Linked DNA regions of Homo sapiens: region 2 is linked to region 1. Evidence: promoter capture Hi-C in human tissues and cell types (Jung and others, 2019). All regions are on one chromosome and are shown on one strand. The core of a region is centred on a gene start or on the middle of the fragment in contact, and the rest is flanking DNA. Distances in the headings are between cores, read along the strand shown. Region 1 holds the start of FAM149A (family with sequence similarity 149 member A). Region 2 holds the start of LOC124900830 (a long non-coding RNA gene).

Region 1 (5,347 bases), core at 1-2,500:
TGCTTAATGCAATCTTGAAGCAGACAAGTGCCCAGTACATGTTGGTGGCAGTTAGATGTAGAAAAGGGATCATGACAGAAGACTTGTTAACTGCCTCCAAATAACGCAAAACTTAGCATTACCTGGAAGTTTACCGTGGCTCAGACTCCAGTTTGATAACTTACAAAAGATTCAAGTATATAAGCATGAATGTCAGTTTATTCACTGCCAGACTTAATTCATCTCTTTTCCCTACCCCACATCAGGAAATGTATCTCCTGAGATCCTCTCCTGAATATTAATGGACAAACTCCATCAATATCTCATTACTATTTTTTTGACACAGGGTCTCACTCTACTGCCCAGGCTGGAATGCAGTGGTGCGATCACGGCTCACTCCAGGCCCAAGCGATCACCTCAGCCTCCCGAGTACCTGGGACTACAGGCATGCGCCACCAGGCCCGGCATTTTTTTTTTTTTTAAATATTTGTAGAGATGGGGTCTCCCTATGTTGTTGCCCAGGCTGGCCTGGAACTCCTGGGCTCAAGCCATCCTCCCACCTCCCAATCCCGGTGCTGGGATTACAGGTATGAGCCACCGAGCCTGGCTGCAGTATCTTATTTTTTAACTCTGTTCAACACTGACCCCACACCCCTTTAGATGCTCGCACCTATACGCTCTACCTTTCACACATATTTTTCAGATTAAGCAAAATACAATTTATTCCACTGAATAGAAAACGTTGCCTTCCATATCTGTCTTTGAATTTGTAGTCGTTCCGATTATAATTTGAGTTCTCAAACATTTGAATTACACAGTCTCTTGGTTCACTCCGACAGGTGTTTAAACAGGTGTGCGTAGGTCTTTCTACTTCAGCTCTCAGAGCCGGTCTTGTTTGCAGGTTAGTGGGTGGCGCACCTCGCGGTTGCTCCCACCCCACCCTTAGTAACAGGGTTTGAGTAGGACCCTGGGGTGGGGGAGTGGATGCTGCTGTTTCAAGCTCGTTCGCCCAAATACATCTTTCTACCCACCTTCCCTATCGTCAGAGAGGTGGCCTGACCCCAGCACGTGCAAGCTTGTCAGGCTGGGTAAGTTCCAGAACCTTCTGGAGCCAGGATTCTCTTTCCCAGCCCTGGGCCCTGAGCTCGGCGGATGGGATCTGCGAGGCTCGGGGCGCAGGGGAAATGGGGGCGTGTTCCTTTAAGGCGGAACCAGGCGGGGAGTGGGACGTCCCCCGCGGGCACAGCCCGAGCCGCACCTGGGGCCCAATTAGCCTGGAGCGCGGCCGGGTGTGTTGAACGTAGCAACCGCGGGCGGCGGGCGGCGGGCGGCGGGCGTCTGGGGCGGGCGGCGGCCGCGCTTCCCGGGGCTCCTGGCCCTTCGGCCCTCGGGGGTCTCACGGCGCTGGGACGAGGCGGGGCTGCTCTCCGCAGCCGGGGCGCTCGGCGGACGGACCCGGGCCGGGGAAGGGCGACCCCAGCGGCGCGGAGCTGAGCGTCCTCGGGGAGGAGAGGGAGCCAGGGGCCTCCGGGGCTCCGGGTGCGGGGACCTCAGGCTCCTCGCCCCGGCCCGGGCCGCCTCGGCCGGATCTCCGCGGTCTGAACTCTCGGGCGGCGGCGAGGACGGCGTGTCCACTGTCGAGGCATGAAGGCTGCTGTGCTGGACCTTGGGTCTCTCTTGGCCAAACTCTTCGAGACCTCGACGGCGCCCCCCGCAGGCCCCTCCTCCAGACCCTCGGGAGGTGCTGCCGCTGCAGGGTCGGGGGGCTCCAGGGCGGGCACCCCGTTGGGTACCGCCCCGACCCTCCTCCGCGCCCTGGCTCCGGACTCCCCCTCCGCCTCGCGGCGGTCGCCCGCCCCGCTGCTCTCCTCCCCCTACTCCCGGGGCTCCGCCGCCAGCCGCGCCGCGGGAGCAGTGGGGACCCTGCTCTCTTGGCCCAGTAGCCCTAGAGCGGGTAAAGCCCCGCCCCAGCCCCCCACTCCCTCCGGCGGGGGCTGCTCCCCTGCTCGCCTGGTGGTCCCAGCGCGGCCGCCCTCGGGCCCCGGCGGGGTCTGGGCCGCGCTCCCCAGGAACCCGCTCCAGCCTGGCCCCGGAGAGCGAGAGCTCGGCGCCTGCGTGGCCCCCGGGGCTGGCCCCAGAACCCTGTTCCTTACGCTGCCTGACATCGGCGAGGAGGGGGCCTCGGACGGCGACTCCGGGGATGGCGAAGCGTGAGTAGCAGCGTGGTCCGGGCGCGTGTACCTTTTGCCGGGACCCCCGACCCCTCCGCCTGCCGCACTCACCTTCGCAGGTGCACTTCAGGAAATGAAATATTTGTAGTAACTTTCATAACCCCCTGGGCACCCTCCTTGCACGTTTCCTGGGTTTTTACTCCTTGGCTTTGCGGGCTTTCAGACATAAGCTGTGACATGCTTTGTCCAGCTTTCTCAGAGTGAATCCTAAGGGGCCTTGAAGGAAGGGACAGAATTTTGTTTCTCTTCTACCAGAAGCATTGCTACTTAGAGTGTTTGTTTGGTTTTCTTAAGGACTTTTTGAAGTCCCTTTCTTTGTCTCAGAATATAGCAGGTGTGCAGGGAAACCGAATACACACGTCTGCAGCAAGTGTTTTAAGAAGTGGTGAGACCTGGTGCTTTCCTAATGTCTAAGGACCAGTCCCTAGTCTTATCCTAAGTGGGATGGGTCTCCTTTGTGTGACATCTAGTTAATTTACATATGCATGACATCATCTGACACAAATGGAGTTGTAATGGCCAGGACACGTCTGATTATTACCCTAGAGCTCCTGAGAGCTTTCCACAGTGCCCTGAGTCACTGCAGAAACGTTGACTTCATGGGAACATTTTCACTGGGAATCGGAGGCCGATTCCCTCAACACACACACACCCACACAACACCCCTTTCACTTCCAAGAGTCGTGATAAAAACATTGCTCTTTTAAAATGTGTTTTAGAACTAGGATGAATTTTAATTTTTAGAGTGGAGCATATCGTTAGCTATTCTTGAGTGGGTAAATTTTCATCCTGAATGCTGCAAAGAAATAGTGAAATGGTCAAAGACAGATGAGCCAATTCACAGACTGAGGTTTCTGCATTGTAATCTAGTGAGGCCATTCCCTACTCCCTCCAAAAAATCCTGAGTAATTTTTGCATTCATACTGATCCTGACTCACTCACAATTTAAATAATTACAGTTTCACAAAATTGAATGATATTCATGTCAATATGAAAACAAGCGGCCGGGCACGGTGGCTCACGCCTGTAATCCCAGCACTTTGGGAGGCCGAGGCGGGCGGATCATGAGGTCAGGAGATCGAGACCATCCTGGCTAACACGATGAAACCCCGTCTCTACTAAAAATACAAAAAATTAGCCGGGCGTGGTGGTACGTGCCTGTAGTCCCAGCTACTCGGAAGGCTGAGGCAAGAGGATGATGGCGTGAACCCGGGAGGCGGAGCTTGCAGTGAGCCAAGATCGCACCATTGCGCTCCAACCTGGGCGACAGAGAGAGAGACTCCGTCTCAAAAAAACAACAACAAAAAAGAAAATAAGCAGTTAAGCAAAAAGTTGTTCCCACTCATTAAAAAATACTATATTATGACATATGTTTATCAACTGATAGTTTTCCCTATCAGTTAATTGCTTTTGGAAAACTCACTGGAATACATATGCCTGAGGAATTAGATCTTTGTTATTGGCAACTGGTCCTTAACATTTATGCAATTAATGTTTTATGAGCAAACAGATCTACACACTGACCTTAAACTCTAGTCTTAGTGCTTTTAACAAATAGGCACTGAAATATGCAGCATGGCCAGTGAAACTGGTGTTAGTTTCAATTCTTGAACATATTAGCTCATGTTTATATTGTGCAAATATTTGGAATAGATACTTTTTGAATAACACTGCATTTGGCATTATTTACATAAGAGATTATTCTGAATTAACAAATGCATTCAATTTTATGGACAGTGAAGAAATTGAATTTTTAAATTATTATTACTTTTTGAGATGAGGTCTCCTTCTGTCACCCAGGTTGGAGTGCAGTGGTATGATCACTGTTCATTGCAGCCTCAACCTCCCAGGCTCAAGCGATCTGATTCTCCCGTCTCAGACTCTCGAGTAGCTGGGACTACAGGTGTGAGCTACTATGCCTGGCCAATTTTAAAAATGTTTCTGTGGAGACGGGGTCTCCCTATGTTGCCCAGGCTGGTCTTGAACTCCTGGCCTCAAGCAATCTTCCCACCTGGGCATTGCTGGGATTACAGGCATGAGCCACTGCATCTGGCCATGAAATTGAATTTTAGGTAAGTGCCATGAGAAGTAATATACACAGCTAGGTGCTTTGCAGAATCCTCCTGAGTTTGTGTGTTCCTACTGTCTGCAGCAGCAGGTAGAGGCACACACAGGCAGGAAGCAGACTGGCCCTCTGAGCATACCATTTTTCCTTTCAGATCCACGACTACTCACATTCCCTTCCTCTCATCATACCCCACTCCTTTTTCAATCACTAAAACATAAGAGACAAAGGGGAAGGAAGAAAGTATTAAGACGGCTTTTCTTTCAATACTGCAGACTTTGCACCTTGAAGGATTCTTTTTCCCTCCTGGATTTCTGTGGTAGTGATTTATAACACCGAATAAACAAACATAAGACAATGAATTTAAATTTGCTCCTACCATCTCATCTGTCACTTGGCAGATAGCTGCTGCTGTTAGCCTGTGTGGTTAATATTAAAATCAGGAATTTAAATTTCAAAAGCCTGGAAACTTGGAAAGGGAGAAATGGGTAATGTCAGAGAAAAAGTTTAAAGAGTGATGAGAATGTGAATACATATAAAGGAAACCGTAAACCTGTCTGCAAGAAATGCGGATCTAATTTTAAAGCTGTGGCCCTGAGTTCTAAAGGAAAACCCTATTAGCAGTTTGTACTTTTTTGACAATAACGCATACATTTTACATTTGCCTGATTCTGTACTTGGCTTTAAAAAAAAAAAACAAAAAACTAAAAGTAGTGAAATTAACTTGAGTAGGAAAATATGCAAACTCTCCTGCAATTTAGAGGCTTTTTTCCAAGCAAAGATGCTGAATAGCAGCAGGGGTTTTTAATCTCTGACCCAAGAATTCCGTAAGTGAAAGGCCCATGGAACAGAGGCTGCCCCTTTTGCTCCACAGGGCGTACTGACTGCACATCTGAGCCAGAGGCAGAGGATACTGATCTCTCTGTCTTCACCTCACTTTCCTGCATCCCTGGATACGTGATCCAACACCTTTGATCTTCACCTTGGCTTCCCTGTCCATTTCATGTATATATTATGCCTCAGTGTTTTTCAGTCTCACTCATCCCTCTTCATTACCTCTTTTCATACTTCT
Region 2 (5,599 bases), core at 1,172-3,671, 79 kb before region 1:
TGCTTCAGTAGGGAAATGGGATGCAAAGGAACACTTCTAATAAGGAAACATTTGCTTAAAGTGATTTTTAAGGAAAGTTCTTTTATAATGACCTTTAAAATAGTTAAGATCATACCTGGTGGCCAGGCGCGATGGCTCATGTCTGTAATCCCAGCACTTTGGGAGGCCGAGGCACCAGATCAGTTGAGGTCAAGAGTTTGAGACCAACCTGGCTAACATGATGAAACCCCGTCTCTACTAAAAATACAGCAAAAAAAAAAGTTAGTGGAGCATGATGGTGGGAGCCTGTAATCCCAGCTACTCAGGAGGCTGAGGCATGAGAATCACTTGAACCCACAAGGCGGAGGGAGCAGTGAGCCAAGATCAGGCCACTGCACTCCAGCCTGGGCAACAGAGCGAGACTCAGTCTCAAAACAAATAAAATAAATAAAATAATATAAACAGATCATATCCGGCAAATGTTGACAACTATTTTACCTTCATACTTATTCAAAATTTCAAAATATTAACAGCAAAAGACTTAAGTAGGAGTGCCAAGGCAACCACAAACGGGCCAGCAGTTTAGTTTGCAAACAGAATTGAATTGTACAGGGCAGGGCTCACACACTGACCCCGGCCCAGGGGGACCCTTAAATATCAAGGCAGGAGAACATTGGTGTGTCAGCCTACGTGGGACCAAACTGCAGAATTTCCTACAAGATCCGTCTTTCCTCCTTTTTTATAGTCCGATACTCTCTTTGTCAACCTGTTTCATTAGTTAGTAGGTCACAAAAAGGGAAACTTCTCAATTGCTGAAAAATCTTTCTCTAGTTCTTAAAATCACAAGGTTTGTGCCTGTAACATACATGTTTTATATCTATTCCGACAGTTGCCATCCAGTGTGTATTGTTACCACGTTTAATACATTAAAGTAAATCCCACTGCACCATGCGTGTGGACTGCCGTGCACACTGACTGTGCTCTTTTTGTTCAGTATGGCTCCGCTTTTAAAGCTGTGGTCTGTGTGTGTTTGTGTGGATGACGTGCACGGCTTTCTGAAACGATGCTCCAGTGGTGGTGAAGGGGACAGCGGGGCTGGACTCTGCCCACCCTGGCCCAGCTGGGCACCCAGCTCCCGTCCTGGCTCCTGCTCCTGTTCTGCCCCTCTCACCAGATTCTGAGCCTGGGTTTGTTCACAGACTGATCCCCAGACTCCAACGCCTGGGACTTGACACCTTCTGCTAAAACTCTTCTCTACATTCAACGTGCCGCAGGCTCACCTTTCACAAAACGACTAGATTTTGGCTGATGAGCCCTGTTCCCGTGGGCGTCTGACTGTAGTGAGTCCTTGTTTGGGCTGCACCGTTCCTGTCTCGGCACCGATGTAGTCGACCGTCCAGGTGAGGCCGAACCAGGAGAGCTTTGGCAGCGGTGAAGCCTCTCCATTCTTTCCAGACCAGTGCTGAAATACACCCCAGTGGTTCCAACAAATAAACTAATATCCAGACATCCACCCCTCCAGGGACAACAAATATAGAGGTTAATACAAATATTGAGAGGACAGGTGGGGCGTGGTGGCTCATGCCTGTAATCCCAGCACTTTGGGAGGCCGACGCAGGTAGATCACTTGAGGTCAGGAGTTTGAGAGCAGCCTGGCCAACATGGTGAAACCCTATCTCTAGTAAAAATACAAAAATTAATCATGGTGGCAGGCACCTGTAATCTCAGCGACTCGGGAGGCTGAGGCAGGAGAATTGCTTGAACCCAGGAGGCAGAGGTCGCAGTGAGCCGAGATCACGCCACTGCACTCCAGCTGCAGCCTAGGGCCGAGTGAGACCCTGTCTCCAAAAAACAAAACAAACAAAAAATAAAAAAAAAAAATAAAATAAAAATAAATATTGAGAGGACAAATATGAAAGAAAGCAGATTAGATATTGGCATCAAGCTTTTTAAAGAAAAAAATACTGATTTTATTCAAATGCAGCGAAGTTTCTATTATTAATACTGCCACCGCAGAACCCGCTGACCTTGCGAAATGCTGGGTTCACCTGCAGGACGCAGACACAGAGTTCACTGTGGCTAAGACCAGGTCAGCCTATGGGATCTAGAGAGTTCTGATCCAGGCAAACTCTTCCAGGAAATGGAACTGTGTATCAGAGAATGAGAAATAGAAGGAACACTTTTCTGTGAATGCCTCTTTACTGTCTCAGTATAGAAAACTTACACAAAATTCAAGAAGCAACTCAAATAACTCTGCCTCCTCATGCCCCTGCCTGCTACTTATTCAGATGCACGTTCCCACCGTGTTTCTCCCACTCTCGGGGCGGCACTCATGACTCTATGACGCTCGTTTCTGTGCCTTGCCTCCCCCAGGATTGTGAGCGAGGGTAAGACAAGGATTGTGCCTCATTCATCTCAGTATCTCAGCTCTTCGTAGAGTGATGTGCAAATAGTAGGCCCTTCAAAGATGCGCGGAGTTAACACAGAGTTCATTTCTGAAGCTTTTGGCAGCATGGATGCTGTTGATCCCTTGCTGGGAGGGAACTAAACTTCAGACCACCCATGTGGGATCTTGAAACAGAAACAGGGAATCCTGTTTTCACTTCATATGTAGATGGCTTTACAAAGATGTCACTCCCACCTTAGCAAGGAGGAAAAGCCATGTGATCTTCACAGTGCCAACTTTTCTTGAGCACTTCAGAAAGCTGAGGTTGCAAGGCAAGCAAGTGAAGTCAGTTCTGAGGAGTGACAGGTCCCTCGGGGAGAATCGGGCCGCACAGATGGTTTCACCCTTGGCAGAGTGTGAGAGGAGGGTGGATGGAGCAGCCGTAAAAGCAGGTTGGAAGAAAACAGCCAGGATGGGCCGGGTGCGGTGGCTAACGCCTGTAATCCCAGCACTTTGGGAGGCCGAGGCAGGCGAATCACAAGGTCAGGAGTTCGAGACCAGCCTGGCCAACATGGTGAAACCCCATCTCTACTAAAAATACAAAAATTAGCTAGGCATAGTGACAGGCGCCTGTAATCCCAGCTACTCGGGAGGCTGAGGCAGGAGAATCGCTTGAACCCGGGAGGCGGAGGTTGCATGAGCCGAGATCACGCCGCTGCACTTCAGTCCGGGGGGCGACAGAGTGAGAGTCCGTCTCAAAAACAAAAAAAGCAAAACGAAACAAAACAAACAAAAACAAAACAAAAAACCCAGCCAGAATGTAGCAAATTCTTAAAGTCTGAGTGTGAGCTTGTGTGCTAGATGGTTGAGAAAGCCCCGGTGGGCCTGAGACACAAGGAGAACCTGCATTCACCTAGTGTTAGCTCTTTCCACCATCTCCACTGTGTGCTCCTGAGGAAGATCTGGACAGGGAAGGACAATCCAGCTACTGTCCCTGACACAGATACTGCTTCAGGGGAGGGGAAGAAGCAAAAGCGCTGTTTGTCCTTGGGGGAAGACCTGGAAAATACTCAGGTGCAAGATCCTGTGATGGATGCAAAGCGAAGGCGGTTACCATGGGGAAGGGAGCTGGGAAGCTTTGCAAGCAGGAGGAATAGCTGCTGGGCAAAGTGACACCACTTTGTGGAAAGCTCACTATCACCACCTTCCTCTCAGCCCCTACAAGCCCAGAGAACAGGCAAAGTGCTTTGGCGGAGGTGTCTAGAAGAATCTAGTGCTTCTGTCACCAGGTGTGTGAAAATATCTCAACTCCTCACAAGGTCCACTGCCTTGCGCTGCTCATTTTCAATTAGCAATAATCATGCCTTGGATAAACCTCATTGGCTATGATACAGCCACTGCAGAGAGCTATGCTGTTCATTTTCTTCACCTAAGACTCACAAAGCAGGGGATGGGGGGCAGTCAGACCTTAGCTACAAGAGGCTGGGAAGTGTAATTTTCATCCATCTTTCTTTCCTTCCCTCCCTCCCTCCCTTCCTTCCTTCCCTTTCATCTCTCTTGTCCTTTCTTTCTTCTCTTTCTTCTCTGCCTCTGCAGTTCAAACAGGCATTCTAGCTGTAGTTCAGAAAGTGATTCCATAAATGGGTTGGAACAGGAGCTGAAAAGCCAGTCCATAATTTCTACTGCACCTCTCATCCCACTAAATACCATTACGTCAGAGGCCCTGTTCATTTCCTTTACAGTGCCACAGCAGTTACAACAAAACAAAATACACATAATGGTGGTTTATTTTTACTTATTTAATGTCCTCCTCTGCCCCATTCATTTATAAGTTCCGCTCATGCCTCGTGTAAACAAAAACTAAAACTCTAAGCCCTCAACCGACTGAATGGATCCCTTCTGAGCCAAGGAGACCTCAAATGATATGGTTTGGATGTGTGTCCCCTCCAAATCTCATGCTGATGTAATCCCCAATGTTGCAGGTGGGGCCTGGTGAGAGGTGTTTGGGTCATGGGATGTATCCCTCATGAATGGCTTGGTGCCATCCTCATGGTAATGAGTGAGTTCTTGCTGTATCAGTTCATGGGAGAGCTGGTTGTCTAAAATAACCCGGCACCTCTGTGATTGCCAGACAGTTTCTTCTTGCTGGCTGCACAGACAAAATCAATCCACTGAGACCACAGCATTGCAGTACAGAAAGAGTTTAACTGACACGAAGCCGGACCACATGGGAGAACTGGAGCTATCATTCAAATTGGTCTCTCTGAAGGCTCAGAGGTTAGAGTCTTTATGACAATTTGGTGGGCGGGGAGTTAGGGAATGGGCGCTGCCGATTGGTTGGGGATGAAATCACAGGGTGCAGAAACAATCCCCGTGCTCTGAGTCAGCTGCTGGGTGGAGCCACAGGATCAGGTGAGTCAGGAGTCAGGAGTCCAGGTGGGGTGTGTCTGAAACACATCTCAGAAAACCCATCTTAGGTTCTACAGTAGTGATGTCATCCATAGGAGCAATTGAGAAGGTCTCAAATCTTGTGACCCCTGGCCACGTGACCCCTGAGTAGTTAGGGATTGTAGGAACAACACCTGTCTCTTAGCAGGTTCAGGCCCCTCCCATAATCCTAACCATGAGGTCTTTCATTGGTTCTAGAAAGGTGGTTCAGTTCTGGGAAGGGCTGTTATCATCCTTGTCTTAAGGTTAAACTATAAACTAAATTTTTCCCAAGGTTAGCTTGGCTTACATCCAGGAATGACCAAGGACAGCTTGGAGGTCGGAAGCAAGATGGAGTCACCTATGTCAGATTTCTCTCACTGTCATCATCTTTCCAAAAGCAGTTTCACCTCACTGCTCTTTCTCTTGCTCCCTCTCTTGCCTTGTGATACGCTGGCTCCCCCTGAGTCTTCCACCATGATTGGAAGCTTCCTAAGGCCTCACAAGAAGCAGATGCTGGCAAGACACTTCCTATACAGCCTACAGAACTGTAAGCCAAAGTAAACTTGTCTTTATAAATTATCTGGTCTCAGGTATCCCTTTATAGCAATGCAAAACAAACTAATACACCAGAGAGGCCTGAAAAACTGAATTCCCCACCACAATGGGAAGGGATGTCAGACACACCTCGCTATGCCCCCTCCCTTTGGAGTTTAGGTACAACTGACCAGCATTAACATGAAAACAGAGATCATAACACTGACAAAACAGACTCCATGGCAATAAGATAACAAATTCCAACCTGAC

The links. The method cuts DNA at HindIII sites, captures the fragments that hold promoters and counts their contacts. A contact is called where the count stands out against the background at its distance.
Region 2: a fragment that was not itself captured here is called in contact with the fragment with the promoter of FAM149A in region 1 in 2 of the 25 tissues and cell types used here (bladder and spleen).

What each region holds. Positions count from the first base shown.
Region 1 is chr4:186,103,454-186,108,800 of GRCh38, forward strand. FAM149A (family with sequence similarity 149 member A) reads left to right here and starts at 1,251. Exons shown (of 14, transcript NM_001395294.1): 1 at 1,251-2,189. The coding sequence starts at 1,624. LOC124900171 (a long non-coding RNA gene) reads left to right here and starts at 4,241. Exons shown (of 2, transcript XR_007058421.1): 1 at 4,241-4,282. RefSeq lists a silencer at 1,171-1,230. The HindIII fragment of the contact is 14,554 bases long and covers 1-5,184 here.
Region 2 is chr4:186,022,813-186,028,411 of GRCh38, forward strand. LOC124900830 (a long non-coding RNA gene) reads right to left here and starts at 153. Exons shown (of 3, transcript XR_007058420.1): 1 at 116-153. It also overlaps the pseudogene RNU4-64P. RefSeq lists an enhancer at 4,298-5,497. The HindIII fragment of the contact is 3,937 bases long and covers 454-4,390 here.